Linked DNA regions of Homo sapiens: region 1 is linked to region 2. The links are contacts of gene promoters, found by promoter capture Hi-C in human tissues and cell types (Jung and others, 2019). All regions are on one chromosome and are shown on one strand. The core of a region is centred on a gene start or on the middle of the fragment in contact, and the rest is flanking DNA. Distances in the headings are between cores, read along the strand shown. Region 1 has its middle 12 kb from the start of BACH1-IT3. Region 2 holds the start of GRIK1 (glutamate ionotropic receptor kainate type subunit 1).

Region 1 (6,612 bases), core at 4,105-6,604, 450 kb before region 2:
TTTTATATCAGAATCTCGGTCATCAAGATGCTTATAGCTTCATGGAGGAGAGATGTAGGAAAATAAAAAAGCCTGCTAAAGCACACGGATAACAGAGGGTTTTCACAGAAATATATAAAAAATGTTGTGGGGACAGAGATATGAACTCACCTCGTTCATATCCAGGTGAGTAAGTCAACAGTGATGAGGAATACGAGAAAGTCCCAGTAGATTTTGGCGGCAACAAATTATTAGCAATAAAAATATAAGAACTAGTCTTTGGCTCTGTAGAGTGAAGAGAAGGACAATTTTGAGGAAAAAGGAAGAAACTCCGTGAGAGTACTTAGTATTAGGTTGGTGCAAAAGTAATTGCGGTTTTGCCACTAAAATAATGGCAAAAGTAATGGCAAAACCACAGTTACATTTGCATCAACCTAATATGCTGGATTAAAGTTTGATGCTGGAATTTCCTCTTTCCTGGGTCTCTTAAGTCACAACAGATGTGGAATCATAGCAAAAACTCTGTAACCAAACTTAACGCATAAGACCAACGCACAATTACAGACAAGAGTAATCAGAGGACAGACACAAAAGGGTGGAAGTTTACATATTTCTCACTCCCGCAGGCAGTGTTCTGTTGACAATTTCTAACTCTGTTTTGATTCTGTAGTGACAATAGCTGCTTCCCCACCCCCCCCCCTTTTTTTTTTTGAGACAGGGTCTCACTGTGTCACCTAGGCTGGAGTGCCGTGGAATGATCACAGCTCACTGCAGTCTCAACCTCCTGGGCTCAAGTGATTCTCCCACCTCAGCCTCCCAAGTAGCTGGGACTACAGGCATGCACCACCATGCCCGGCTAATTTTTTTATTGTTTTGTAGAGATGGGATTTCGCCGTGTTGCCCAGGCTGGTCTAAAACTCCTGAGCTCAAGTGATCTGCCTGCCTTGGCCTCTCAAAGTGCTGGGATTACAGATGTGAGCCACCAGCCTGCTTCCCCTTTTATTTGTCCTTTTTATAACTGCAGTTGCTCCATGTGGAATGTGATGGCAAAGGGTGTCCATAAATGGGCAACTTCACAAGGGTGGTTAGGAATATAGTAACTTCAGATTAGTCAACAAGGAGGAATTTACATATATTTATGCTCAAATGAAAGAATGAAAATGTTGCCAAATTCTTTCCTTGAGTATTTCTTTCATTTACTATATTCCTTTAACTGTATGAGTTTATGTTTTACTGTTTTCTACATAAAACTCAAGACTTTGTCTTTCATTGTCAACATTGCTAAAAACAGGAATATTGCTGAGCGGTATTTGGGTTTTCCTGCCCTGGCCTGGTTTCTGAGATGACTCTTCAGACTCAGTTCATGTGGGCTGTATGTATAAAAGGAGCTTGGCTAATAATGAAATAACTGTCCTAATTAACTAAGCCTGAAGAAGCAATTATCTCAGCCTACAGAGCGGGCTACCTTTGACCTCATTCAAAAGACTCAGCAGATGGTGGGTTCTGGGAGGTTTGAGGTGGGTTCTGGGAGGTTTGAGGCTCTTTAGAACTTCAAATGGAAAGCTTGTTGAAAGTGAAGAGTTAGCTTTGGTGTCTTTTTTTTTTTTTGAGATGGAGTCTCGCTCTGTCCCCAGACTGGAGTGCAGTGGCGCAATCTCGGCTCACTGCAACCTCTACCTCCCGGGTTCAAGCGATTCTCCTGCCTCAGCCTCCTGAGTAGCTGGAACTACAGGTGGCGCCACCACGCCTGGCTAATTCTTGTATTTTTAGTAGAGACAGTGTTTCACCATGTTGGCCAGGATGGCCTGGATCTCTGGACCTCGTGATCTACCCGCCTTGGCCTCCCAAAGTGCTGGGATTACAGGCGTGAGCCACCGTGCCTAGCCAGCTTTGGTGTCTTTATCCCTGCACTTACCAACCAGACGCCTTCAGGGGCCTCCCAAGGCAGGAGAAGGCACTGTGTTTGAGGCGGTAGGCACACTCTCTGATGACTTGGTTTATAGACTCCCTTGACCATTTGTGGCTGCTAAGATTTATTCACAGTTTCCGCCTTTTGACCTCAGAGGAAGTAAATATTTTCCTCAAGCGGATTGCTGCTCACTGGCCCCCTTTGTGCTTCTATCCCCTCTCAGGGGTCCTCATTCATTTCTTCCTCTCTCAGGTGGCCCTTCATCTATTCATTGTTGGCTGCCATTGTTACGTGGGACTCAGAGAATGATCCTAGGCAGATGCACAGTCCAGTATTCTGGATGTAATGATATTTTCCCAACCTCATTACCATTCCAGCACAATTTTAAAAACAAAGAAACAAGCAAACGTATTTGCCATCACTCCTTCTAATCGGTCTGATATCAGTTTAATACACTGTTATAAATAAGTATATAAATAAATACTATAAATACACCCTATAAATAAACACACAAAATAAGCCAGACTGCTTTTCAGGCAGGAGCCTGGTACATTGCAAAAATAAGCAAAATAAAATAGCTTCAATAATCTTCTGGAATGAATTGATTTTCTTTCCCCCCGGCAAGTGGCTATGTGTACAGCTGCCTACGTGTGGAATAGTCACTTGGTGGATCATTGGCTGAGAGGGTCAGTGTACTTGTCTCTGAAAGCCCGTTTCTTGAACTGACATATAAGAAAGAAAATGTAAGAGAAGCTTCAAAGCTAAGGTAATGAGGGTGACCTAGTTGGGAAAAGTGCTAAAATATCTCCAGTGTATAAAACCTCTTTAATTCTCACCAACGATAAGACAAGTCATTTGGAGTTCTGAGTACTTCCAATTAGCAAGTGAGAGACTCTGATTGAAAAACGGGGCCCACTGCATGGCAGAGTGTGCTTTGGCTCTTTATTTTGATAAGTGGTTTTAAGTATTTATTATAATAATCCATAGCCTACCGACTAATGGGCTGTAGTATGTCTTTTAACTGCGATAAAGTCTTGAGAAAATGAGACCTCACTGTAAGCGCTTGCAGTTAAATCTTGGTCGGGAAGTAGAATGAGGCCACTTTTTTTGATCACAATGATCATGTGTTCTGATTAATGAAGTGAAAAATAGATCATTTTACTATGTGGAAATTACAATGCCCCTTGCATAATACTACAAACAAAAGACATTAATTGCTATTAATGGCCTTGATGTCTATCCTGAAGCATCACATTTAATTGCTTTACTTAGTTGCCTTATTCAATTATTTGGATTTTTCTTTTATTATGGAAGAACAACTCCCCATATTTTATGTCTAGGCCTTCTAACATCAGAAGTGGAGTTAGATTTCCAATGCTGCTGCTTCTGCTGCCCTGTTCTGTAATGTTGGAATCCTATCTACTACTTACCCCTCTTTGGTTCTTTTCTTCACGGCTCACAAGTGGCTGCATGTTGAGGCTGGTGGGATGACATACTGATGAGTTCCTGGTTTTGTACCAATCATTATCACCTCTTCAAGTTTTACTTAACCTACCACCTTGGCATTGACTCAGTATAGCTTGCGGATGAAGTTGCTCTTGTGAAAGGCGTTGAGGAACTCCTCAGCAGATGCTAACAATCTGTTAATGACTTTCCTAATGTGTAGACCCAAGCTGAACAAACATGAAGGCAAATTTCTGGGCCTCGATGTGTTCGCTCAGACTGTACAGGAGCCTTTGTAATTTGATGTTACCAGTTCCTTGGTCAAGACAAGGAGGCAGTTATTATCTATGCCTCTTAGCAGCTGACCTTCAACTGTAAGAGACCATTCTGGATGTAGCAAGTTCCTAAATGACATATTGCTATTCCTTTTAGCTATCAAGATGCTTGGCAGAATTTTTTGTCTCTAGAAATTACCATGGGATCTACAAGCACTGAAGACCAGTTTTATTAGTAGACTTTTGTGGAGTGTTGCTGGAATTAGTGATGGTATCTTAAGTCACAACTGGGTCTTTGAATACTGACTGCTTCTTTGGCTTCGGGTACCCCAAATCCTCCAAGCTCTTCTTGATTTGGTGGATCTTTTGGAAAAACTTCTTTGGTTTGTCTACTTTTGCCATACTCAACTCTCAGGTTTTCATAGCCTTTTATCTTTGAAGACCCCACTGAAGATAATGCAGTCCCCTGTTGTATTAGTCCGTTTTTACGCTGCTGATAGACATACCCGAGACTGGATAACCTATAAAGAAAAAGAGGTTTAATGGACTCAACAGTTCCACGTGGCTGGGGAGGTCTGACAATCACAGTGGAAGGCGAAAGGCATGTCTTCCATGGCAGCAGACAAGAGAGAATGAGAGCCAAGTGAAAGGGGAAACCCCTTATCAAACCATCAGATCTTGTGAGGCTTGTTCACTACCACAAGAAAAGTATGGGGGAAACTGCTCCCAAGATTCAATTATCTCCTGCCAGGTCCCTCCCACAACACGTGGAAATTATGGGGGCTACAATTCCAGGTGAGATTGGGGTGGGGACACAGCCAAACCATATCACCTGTGATCTCCAGAGACTTCCAGGGCGTGGCTCATTTCCACTGACACATTTACAGAGATGTTGTTAGTGGTGTCATACCAAACATAGCTGCCTTTTTTTTTTTTTTTTAAGACGGAGTCTCGCTCTGTCGCCCAGGCTGGAGTGCAGTGGCGCAATCTCGGCTCACTGCAAGCTCCGCCTCCCAGGTTCACCCCATTCTCCTGCCTCAGCCTCTCCAAGTAGCTGGGACTACAGGTGCCCGCCACCGCGCCCGGCTAATATTTTGTATTTTTAGTAGAGACGGGCTTTCACCGTGTTAGCCAGGATGGTCTCGATCTCCTGACCTCATGATCCTCTGCCTCGGCCTCCCAAAGTGCTGTGATTACAACCATGAGCCACCGCGCCCAGCCAAACATACCTGACTTTCTCTTTGCCTTTCTTCTGCTGGACTCCCACCTTGTCCTGTAGCTATTCTAGGGTTCTAGAGAAATTTTATACAAGGGACAGTCTTTGCTCCTGGCTATGACTTCTTCCCCAGATCCGTCTTGTGCTCCTCTCTAGTAAACTTGACCGTACCATGAAGAAGCACAAATGATGACCCTATGATCTCACCTCGTCTGGTAAAGCCCAGCGACAGTCCAGCCTGCACCTTTCTTCTTCTCCACCTGGACCTCTTTGATTCTCCTGAGCTGTGGACTTTCTAATCTGAAAATCCTACCAACCTACCTTCTAAAATTCCAGAGGGAGATGACTCAAGATAGTGTCTATGCAATTTTCTTCTGGTTTTTCTTTAGTGACCAAAGCTGTAGGTTAGTTATTTAAGTTATACTTTATGCCCTGAATAGACATATTGGCAAATGAAAATGTTACCTGTCCAGACTTTCCAGCTTCCCTCCAGCAGGTCTTGTCACTTGGTCTTTTTTCTTTCCATCATGCGGAAGGCTTGTTCTTCCAACAGTTTCTTGCCTGCTTCACCTTGGGACTCACTGTGTGCCTTTAGAACTTGTCTAATCAGAAATTAGATTGCTATTCTTGGCCAGAAAGCAGAGCCAGAGAAATTCGGACCTAGCCTCATTAGAACAGGACTTTAATCAGTTGAGCCTACCAGCCACACACAGGCTAAACATATATATTCTATATAAATAACTACACAAACATATTTATATATCTTTTTAATGTGTGTGTATGCACTGAAGTTTGCAAAGAACTGGGATAGAAAAGCAAATGCATATGATGATTAATGAAACCAGAATTTTAAGTGGTTCCTTGTTGTATATTTGCTGACAACATATTATTTTCCTTTTTGGAGTGGAGTGTGTAAACCTCTGGGCAGGAAAGAACTATGAATTATTCTTTCCCTTCTAATCTACATAAATAAGAGATTCTAAAACTGTGCTTTTAGCCATTTACCATGCAAATAGTCACCAGGGATAGAACTGTTGTAGATCTAGAATATTTATTTAATGGCAGCTGCTACAGGACACATGCTTTTTGAGTTCAATGGCCTAGAATCTCCTCACCCTTACCAACCCCTCCCTTTTAAGGTTCATTTCTTGTGAGTAGCCTAAGATCTGCCTTGTAATCATGCAAAAGGATTTATTTCAATTATAAGAAATTTCATCTCTTCCCTGTGCCTTTTAGGAGCTCCTTAGACTGTCTGAAATACTCCATCCGGACTCATGATAATAGCTCCAGATTTATGCGTTATAACTGGGTGTCTTCATTTTTTTCCATATCAGCAATGTAGATCAACCTTTTTTTTCTAACATATAAAAATCGATTTAGTAGGCCCTTACTTTGCTTTTGGTGGGGAGTTTTAATCTCTTATTATAGACCTTATTTCCCAAACAAAGGCACAAACAAAGAGGAAAAAAACAAGGTTAATAGTTTTCTTTATCACTGGACTCTATCCCCCTACCCACCAATAACACTTAACTGGAACCCTGTCTGTTTCCTTCAATGACCTTTGCTTATGTTAGTTCTCTGAGACAAGAAAATGTGTGGACGCGCTAATAGACAATTTACTTTTTGTTTGCAAAAACAATTCAGTTGCCCAACACGGGACTGTGTTGTAGCTGTGGTGATTAGCAGGCAGGGTGGATAAAGCTTCGAGAACATTATTCAATGCCTAAATGAAGGTCACATTCCCAGTGCTAGTTTTAGTGTGCATGCAAATGATGGCAATTGCTGGGCTG
Region 2 (6,906 bases), core at 2,047-4,546:
TGCTCAAATCACGTGTCTATGTGAACTCAATACCCTCTCAAATATTCAGTATGCATGAATTTTATCTTAGCTTTTATCCTTTTCTCCAAAGCTGAAGCTTAAGCAGACACTTTGACAAGAAAAGTAGACCAGTAATTAATTCATTCAAGCATTTGAGTGCCTTCTCTATATGAGGACCCAGTACTAAGTGCCTAGCGATTTTGCTATACTTTACTTTGAATATTTTAAGTCACTAAAAAACATGCCAGTTAATAATCTAGAGACCCTTTTTATTGGTTGGTTGATTGTTTAGTTGATCGGTCGGTTGCTTGGATGGGTGATGGTTTGTTGGAAAGAAGAATGGGACAGGATATAATAAAGAATACAACTCCCCTTTCTTTTTCCTTACACACACTCATACACACACACATAAACTTTGGCTTAGTCCCCAACCCCTTTTTGTTAATTTTTTGTATTCAATATTGCACTTGACTGACACAAGAAAGTCACTGTAGAGAAACAGGTTTCCTCTGAGGTAAAGCTGGTTTCCACAGTGTGCTAAACTGCTCATTTAAAAGCGTGCATTGGTCCTTAGGTGCATACGGGGCAACAGTGCTCATGTCAGCCACAGGACACTCCAGGCCAGAAGGAGTAACACATTTGTACTGCACATAAACAACACCAGGCCATGCCATGCCATTTTATTTTATGCATTTTGGCTCCCATTTAGAAAAAAGAAAACCTCATTATCTTGTTGCATATATTTGTAAGGTCAGTGAATCATGTTGTTTGTTTTCACCTTGAAAACTACTTTTACGTAGATGATTGTGATTGCTTGGAGCTTAGAAAAATACTGAGATCTGTGAACAAATATGTCTTAAAGCATCCTTTTCCCTTCTCCTCCTGAGTTCCTTTAGATGTGGGGGATATAGGAAAGGAAAATGCTACCTTATATTTGTTATACAGGGATGAGGAACATTGGCTAGCACAGCCATTTCTAGCATCCCTAGATTTGTCTCTTTCAAAAGGTAAAAGACACAAGCAAAACCCCAATTAAGTTAATAAGTATTGGAAATTATAACACACACGCTCATTAGTTACTTTGTATTGTTCAGAATATTTTTTTTTTTTGACCAGGGTGAGTAGAGTTGATTGCATTCCCAAAAACCCAGGATGTTAAACCTAGAACTTATCTCAGATAAAGGATATTTCAGTTATGTATAGTAGTAAGTTTTTTTTTAAAAAAATAAATACTTTGAAACTATTTTAGAAAAGACTCTATCCAATACAATGCACATTAAAATTACCCATAGTCTAGAAAAAACATGTGTGTAGTAAAAGTTAGTATTTGATATCTGCAGCTCAAAGTAGCACATTTCTATTTTTCTTTTAGTGGGCATGTTCAGTGATTAAAAAATAAAACCTAGTATGTTCTGAATTTTTGTAAAGGGGCTGACTAATTGTAGGTCAGAGCTAGTATAGTAACTGAGCAATTTCAACTGCTCAGGAAGCGTCACTATGCCAGTGTCTGGCACTGCTCCTGGCATATTCTGTTAGTTCCTGGAAAGGGGGAGTTAGAAGTCCTCAGAGATCAGGGCTTCACTCTTGCGGTTGAAAGTGGAAGATGGGAGAAACTAAGAGACCCATGTGATGTCACAGCTTCTCCTGTGGCTCCCTCTGTGACCGTGACTCTAAGAAGCCCGATGGGTTGGGAAAGGAGGAGGGCAAATGAGATTCAGCGAACAATAACTGGGTTTAGTTTAAAAGGCGAAGAGCTGTGTCAACCCTCAAAGTTCAGAAATTGCCCTATGCAGCCACAGACCAAACCTTGGTGGTGGGTGCTATACACTTATGGCTGTCAGTCCACGCCCCTTCCACTGTCCTTGCGTTTTGTCATCTTTGGGCTGCCCACATTCAGCTTTCCGGTGTCTTTTTTATCTCATTCGAGATCAGAGCCCTGAATCTCCTAGGAAGCTACCTGGACTGGGAACTGGATCTTGCTCAGTGGCAGGCAAGCGGGCAAATTAGGGAGCAAGTGGGAAACTTAAGTGTCTGCTGATGTTGCTAACTGACCGTCCTTCTCACTCTTCGAATCTTCAGCTCGAAGTCAGATCTGAACTCTGCCCCAATCTAGTGGAACCCGTCAGAGTTGGCAGACTCCATGTGGAAGAATCCAACTTAGGCATAAAAACTTGGAGGCTCTGGGGTAACAGGCTCTAGGATATTCCCACATCCCTAGTGGTCCCTGTATTGTATTCTTGAGATTCGTGCATACTTGCCAGTGCCCAGAGCCCAGGTTGCCAGGCACCGGGACTGCGGATCTGGACTGCCAGACGCCCACCCAGGAGGCTGGGAGAGCTCATTTCTGCGCCCAACTCAAGTGGCTGCAGCGGCTCGCGATCCCTTGCCCAGAGTAGGGGTGCCGGTCCCTGCGAACCTGGATCCCCGCACTCTAGCCCGCGTTCCTGGAGCCCAGATTGAAAAACCCGCCAACTGTACCTCCCGGGGAAGGCCGGCACCCTCCAGGAGGGAAGCAGTGACGCGGCTCCCCCTTTTTTGTGTAGCCTCCCATGAGCACTGACCTCCACCTTCCCCAGCTCCGGCTCCTGCGCCGCCGCGCGCTGCCTCGCCCGGGACCCGCTACACCCGCGTTGGTGCGGCGACCGACCACGTCTCCCGAGCAGGCAGCCTGGGGCTCACTCACCGATCCTGAGTACTTGCGGGGCGGTCTGAGGGAGGATATAGCAGAGGAAATAGAGGAGTGCCCAGCTGGTGTCCCTGGTCCAGAGCCCGGGCTGGGCGAGGAGTGTGCCGTGCTCCATCTTCCTAGCTTCTTAATTCATGCCGAGATACAGCCGCTGCCGGACGCCCGAGAGATGCACCCAACTTGGGCCGGGTCCCCGCCTCATCCTCTCTGGATGCTCCGGTTCCAAGCACGCTGCGCGCTCCCCACGGAGCGAGCTCGAGGGAACCCGCGTGGGACCGCGGAGCTGGCTGGCAAGGCTGAGCTCTCTCGGGGCTCCTCAGTGCTGTCGCTAGCCCATCACGGCTCCTCCTCCTCCTCTTCCATGGGCCGCAGACCGCGGAGGATCAGCGCTCTCTGGCTCCCGGAGCCCAGAGACCAGCTGAGGAAAGTTGCTGCCCCGATCTGCAGGAACGTCTCCCTCATTCGTCCTTTGGTCAGATGCAAAAGTCGGGGGATAGGCACAGACAGAGGAGGGAAAAGGGGGAAAGAAGACTAACGAAGAAGGAGAGAGGGTACAGGGTGAGTTGGTGCAGGGGCTCTGAGCAAGCCTGATGAGCTCCAGCAGGTTAACTGGGAGCGGAGCCACGTTCCGGCTTCTCTGAATCTTTGCTTTCCTCCTCCCCTCGCTGGCCCCACCCTTTATTTACTGCCCGCCCCAACCCCACTGATCAAGATACTCGCGCGCGCGCGCGCACACACACACACAGACACACAGACACACACACAGACACACACACACACACACACGCTCTTTTTTCTCTCCCTCAACTTTGCGCTCTGCTGCTGGGAAGTCGATCGAGTGTTGCATTCTCAAGACAGATCAAATCTAAACTATTGGTCCGAGCAGAGAAAGCCTCTGCTGTCCGCTGTGAGTGGCAAGGAAGCCTTCTTGGTAATGTCCGTGTGCACCTGTTAGGGGGTCTTATAGACAGCCAGCTATGACTCGTCCCATCATTTAATGGAAAATCACCTCCAATATTTTGGAAAATACCGGGGCTCCTGTTTTGACTCTGACGAGGATGATGAACAGGGGAAGGGGGAGAGGAATGAGAAAGCTTCAGTACTCCAAGATTATAGTGGCTTCATTCCTATTTGGACCCAAGATAATCTCTTGCAAATTGCTTCCATTTACACATGCCACTGAGATAGAAGCAGCCTCCAGCGCCGCTACTTTTCTTCATTTCTTTTAACTGTCAGGTCTGAATACTGAAAGATAGGCTATTTTAGCAATGTAGGTTTGGAGACTGTTTCTCTGTAGAAGGACAAGGACACTTCCCTAGGGAAATCAGCATTTGATTATGTTGGATTAATTTCCTTCGAGTTTTGTGGGGAATGTTCTATATATATGTTTGCTAGGTCTATATTAACATCTCTTTTTTTTAACTGGTAAATAGATTTTGAAGAACTGACCAAATCCATATGAAAAGTATGTCCACAGTTGTTATATGAGCCTAGAGTGGGAAACAATTGCAAAAGGAATCTAATATATCTTAAAGTCCATTCGTGTATTAATTAATTAATTCATTCATTATTCAACAAATACCTACTGAGTATTTTGTTTGTGGTGTCAGACACTATACTTTTCACTAAAAACCCTATGGTGGGGAAAATGCATGTTCATTCTCCAAGGGAGGTTAGAACTCCACTGTGGAAAGCTAGTCAGTTCATATCTCAAGTAGTAGGCTTGGTTCTGGACACTTTGGGATGAGAGTTAACAAAGCAGAACATGTCTGCAGATAAGAAGAGGGACTGATAGGGATTTAGGAATGCATTTTTGCGTGGAAAGATTGAGGAAACCAAGAGGAATTAGGAGCACATGCTGGTTATCTTCAGACATTTGAAGAATTCTTGTGTTAAAAGAAAGTAGCCTTATTCAGTGTTAGATATGTGAGAAGAGCTAAGAAAAATAAGATTGTCAGAGGGAAATTGTAGAAGAGTAAATTTTGTCTCATTCGGGGAGCATTTTTAAGACCAGAGAATATCAAACAGCGGCAAGGCTGGGTGTGCTGGCTTACATTGGAGCACTTTGGTGATGTTGAGGAGGGAAGATGACCTAAAACCAGGAGTTCGAGGCCAGCCTTGGAAACATAGCGAGACCCTTCCTGTGCAAATAAAAATTAAGAAAAACAGTAGCATGACCTGCTTCAGAAAAGAGGCAAAGTCAAACTATTCATTTATTTATGCATATTTTTTGAGAGCCCACGTTGTGTGAGGTATTGTGCCAATCTCTGGAGACACAGAGGGATATGATTGCTGCCACTCTGGAACTCATTGGCATTAAAGTATGATGAGCTTTACAAAATGGTGTTATGGAAGTAAAGAAAAAAAGTAGTGTAATCCCATTTAAGAGTTTGGAAAGGGGTTCTTCAGGAAGTGATGCTTCAAAACTCAAAGAATCAGTGGTTTAAAAGGGATTAGTAAGTATTTCTTAAAGTGAGAATGAATGTAAATCTGTTAGAGGGTTTATTTTTAAACCTAAAGGTCTGTGGTAAGCATTTTTAGTCATCTATTTTCTCTGGGTACATCAAAGACCAATACATAGCAGATAGTGAGTGGCTAAAGTTTGAAGACCCAAGGTCTAGAATTAAGTCAGCTTTTGAACAAACTGGGTTTAAATTCTGGTTTTACCAAGTCTATGTTTTTAGCTTTGGTTAAATTTTTATGTCTGCCTGTAGTCCATTGCTGGTGCTTACGTATATCTAGTTTTCCCTTTCTCTGGCTCATGAAAGCCTGTACCTTTTCAATTAGTTGGAATCTACCTTTTCAATTAGTTGGAATCATGTGACCATTTTTGGCCAATAAAATATGAGTGGAAGTGCACTGCTGCCAGGAGAAAAGGAAGACAGTGAAAAAAGATCCTGCATGACTTCCAGGACTCTCTTTCCCTGCCAGAGTAACTCTGAAAGCCACAAGTTCTAGAGGTTAAGATGAAAGCAGCCTCAATCCCTGAGTAATTTTTTGTAAGGGAGTTGCTCTGAATGTTTCTAGAACAGCAACACACTGCTAACAAATCAGTCCCAGCTCAACATTATGTTTTAATCCACTACAATTTTGAGATATTTGTTACTGCAGCATAAGCTTCTCTATACTAACTAATAAACTTTCTATGACTTGATATCTTCATCTGTAAAATGAGGATAATAATAACACTACAGGGCCATTGGAGGATTATATGAGCTACTGCATGTGAAGAATTTCCCAAGGTCCTTGTTACTCAGCATATTTTAGTTTATTTGTGGTCATTACTTTTCTGGTTAAAGGAATCCATGCATATATTTCTAGTAATAATCTGCCCCAGATTGCAGAGACTGAAATATTTTGTTTTTTGGGCAAGAAGTCAACAACACTGGTCCAATTAATTATATGGTAATCATAATTGTTCTGATACTATTTCAGGAGTTTTGCTACTTTTTACCTGTATTGTCTCTGGTTTATGAGGAAACAGTTCATTTTGATAATTAGAGATATTAGAGAGATTTCCTAAAGGAAGTTTCTCGAAAACTAAATGGCACACTGCAGTTATGTTTCTGTATCATCTGTAAAATTCTGTAAAGCTTAAAACTGAAATTTATTTCCTTGTTAAAATGCTTCTCTCCACTGCTCATGTACACAGGCTCATGGTGTTGAGTTACTCATGAGTGATCAGCAGCTGCTGTTAATTTGTTTTGTGCTTTTTAGAAGGACTGTATTTTGTACATATATTCATCCAGTTATTTTTTGCCCGAAATGACTCTGGTAATCACTCTTGATTCACATTTTCTCATAGTGCCCTCTTAAGAATAAACATGTCTAATTGAATGCATGCCGTCTTTTTCCCATTCCCCAAATCTTAAGCTTAAATTGATACACCGTGGTTAACAATAAAACAGTACAATGACATGCAGCATTGTGCTTCCTATGAGAGCTGGTGGCATTACTTAGATACTAATCCATTTTAAATTACTTAATTTTTAGGAGATAACAGATACAAAGAAAAATAGCTTAGAGTAACCTGGGGAATGCGAATGTTATACAGTCTTTTCAAAATGTTGTGAGCATAGTTGAGGAAACTTAAAATGTTACTCATGGCACCAAAAACAAAAGATCAAGTGGCTTTTAGAGCCTGCTGGGACTGTGTAGCTGATGTAGGGTCTAAATCTTGAGTTCTTGACTACTTCTTTATGCTTTTTTCGCTAGGTCAT

The links. Contacts are between HindIII fragments. The study calls those that stand out against the background at their distance.
Region 1: a contact is called between a fragment that was not itself captured here and the fragment with the promoter of GRIK1 in region 2, in 2 of the 25 tissues and cell types used here (H1 embryonic stem cells and dorsolateral prefrontal cortex).

Annotation. Positions count from the first base shown.
Region 1 is chr21:29,480,806-29,487,417 of GRCh38, forward strand. No RefSeq gene overlaps it. Among named protein-coding and RNA genes, the nearest start is that of BACH1-IT3, 12 kb to the right of the region's middle. The HindIII fragment of the contact is 6,526 bases long and covers 2,092-6,612 here.
Region 2 is chr21:29,936,700-29,943,605 of GRCh38, forward strand. GRIK1 (glutamate ionotropic receptor kainate type subunit 1) reads right to left here and starts at 3,297. Exons shown (of 18, transcript NM_001330994.2): 1 at 2,684-3,297. The coding sequence starts at 2,801. RefSeq lists an enhancer at 2,583-3,084. The HindIII fragment of the contact is 7,699 bases long and covers 1-4,791 here.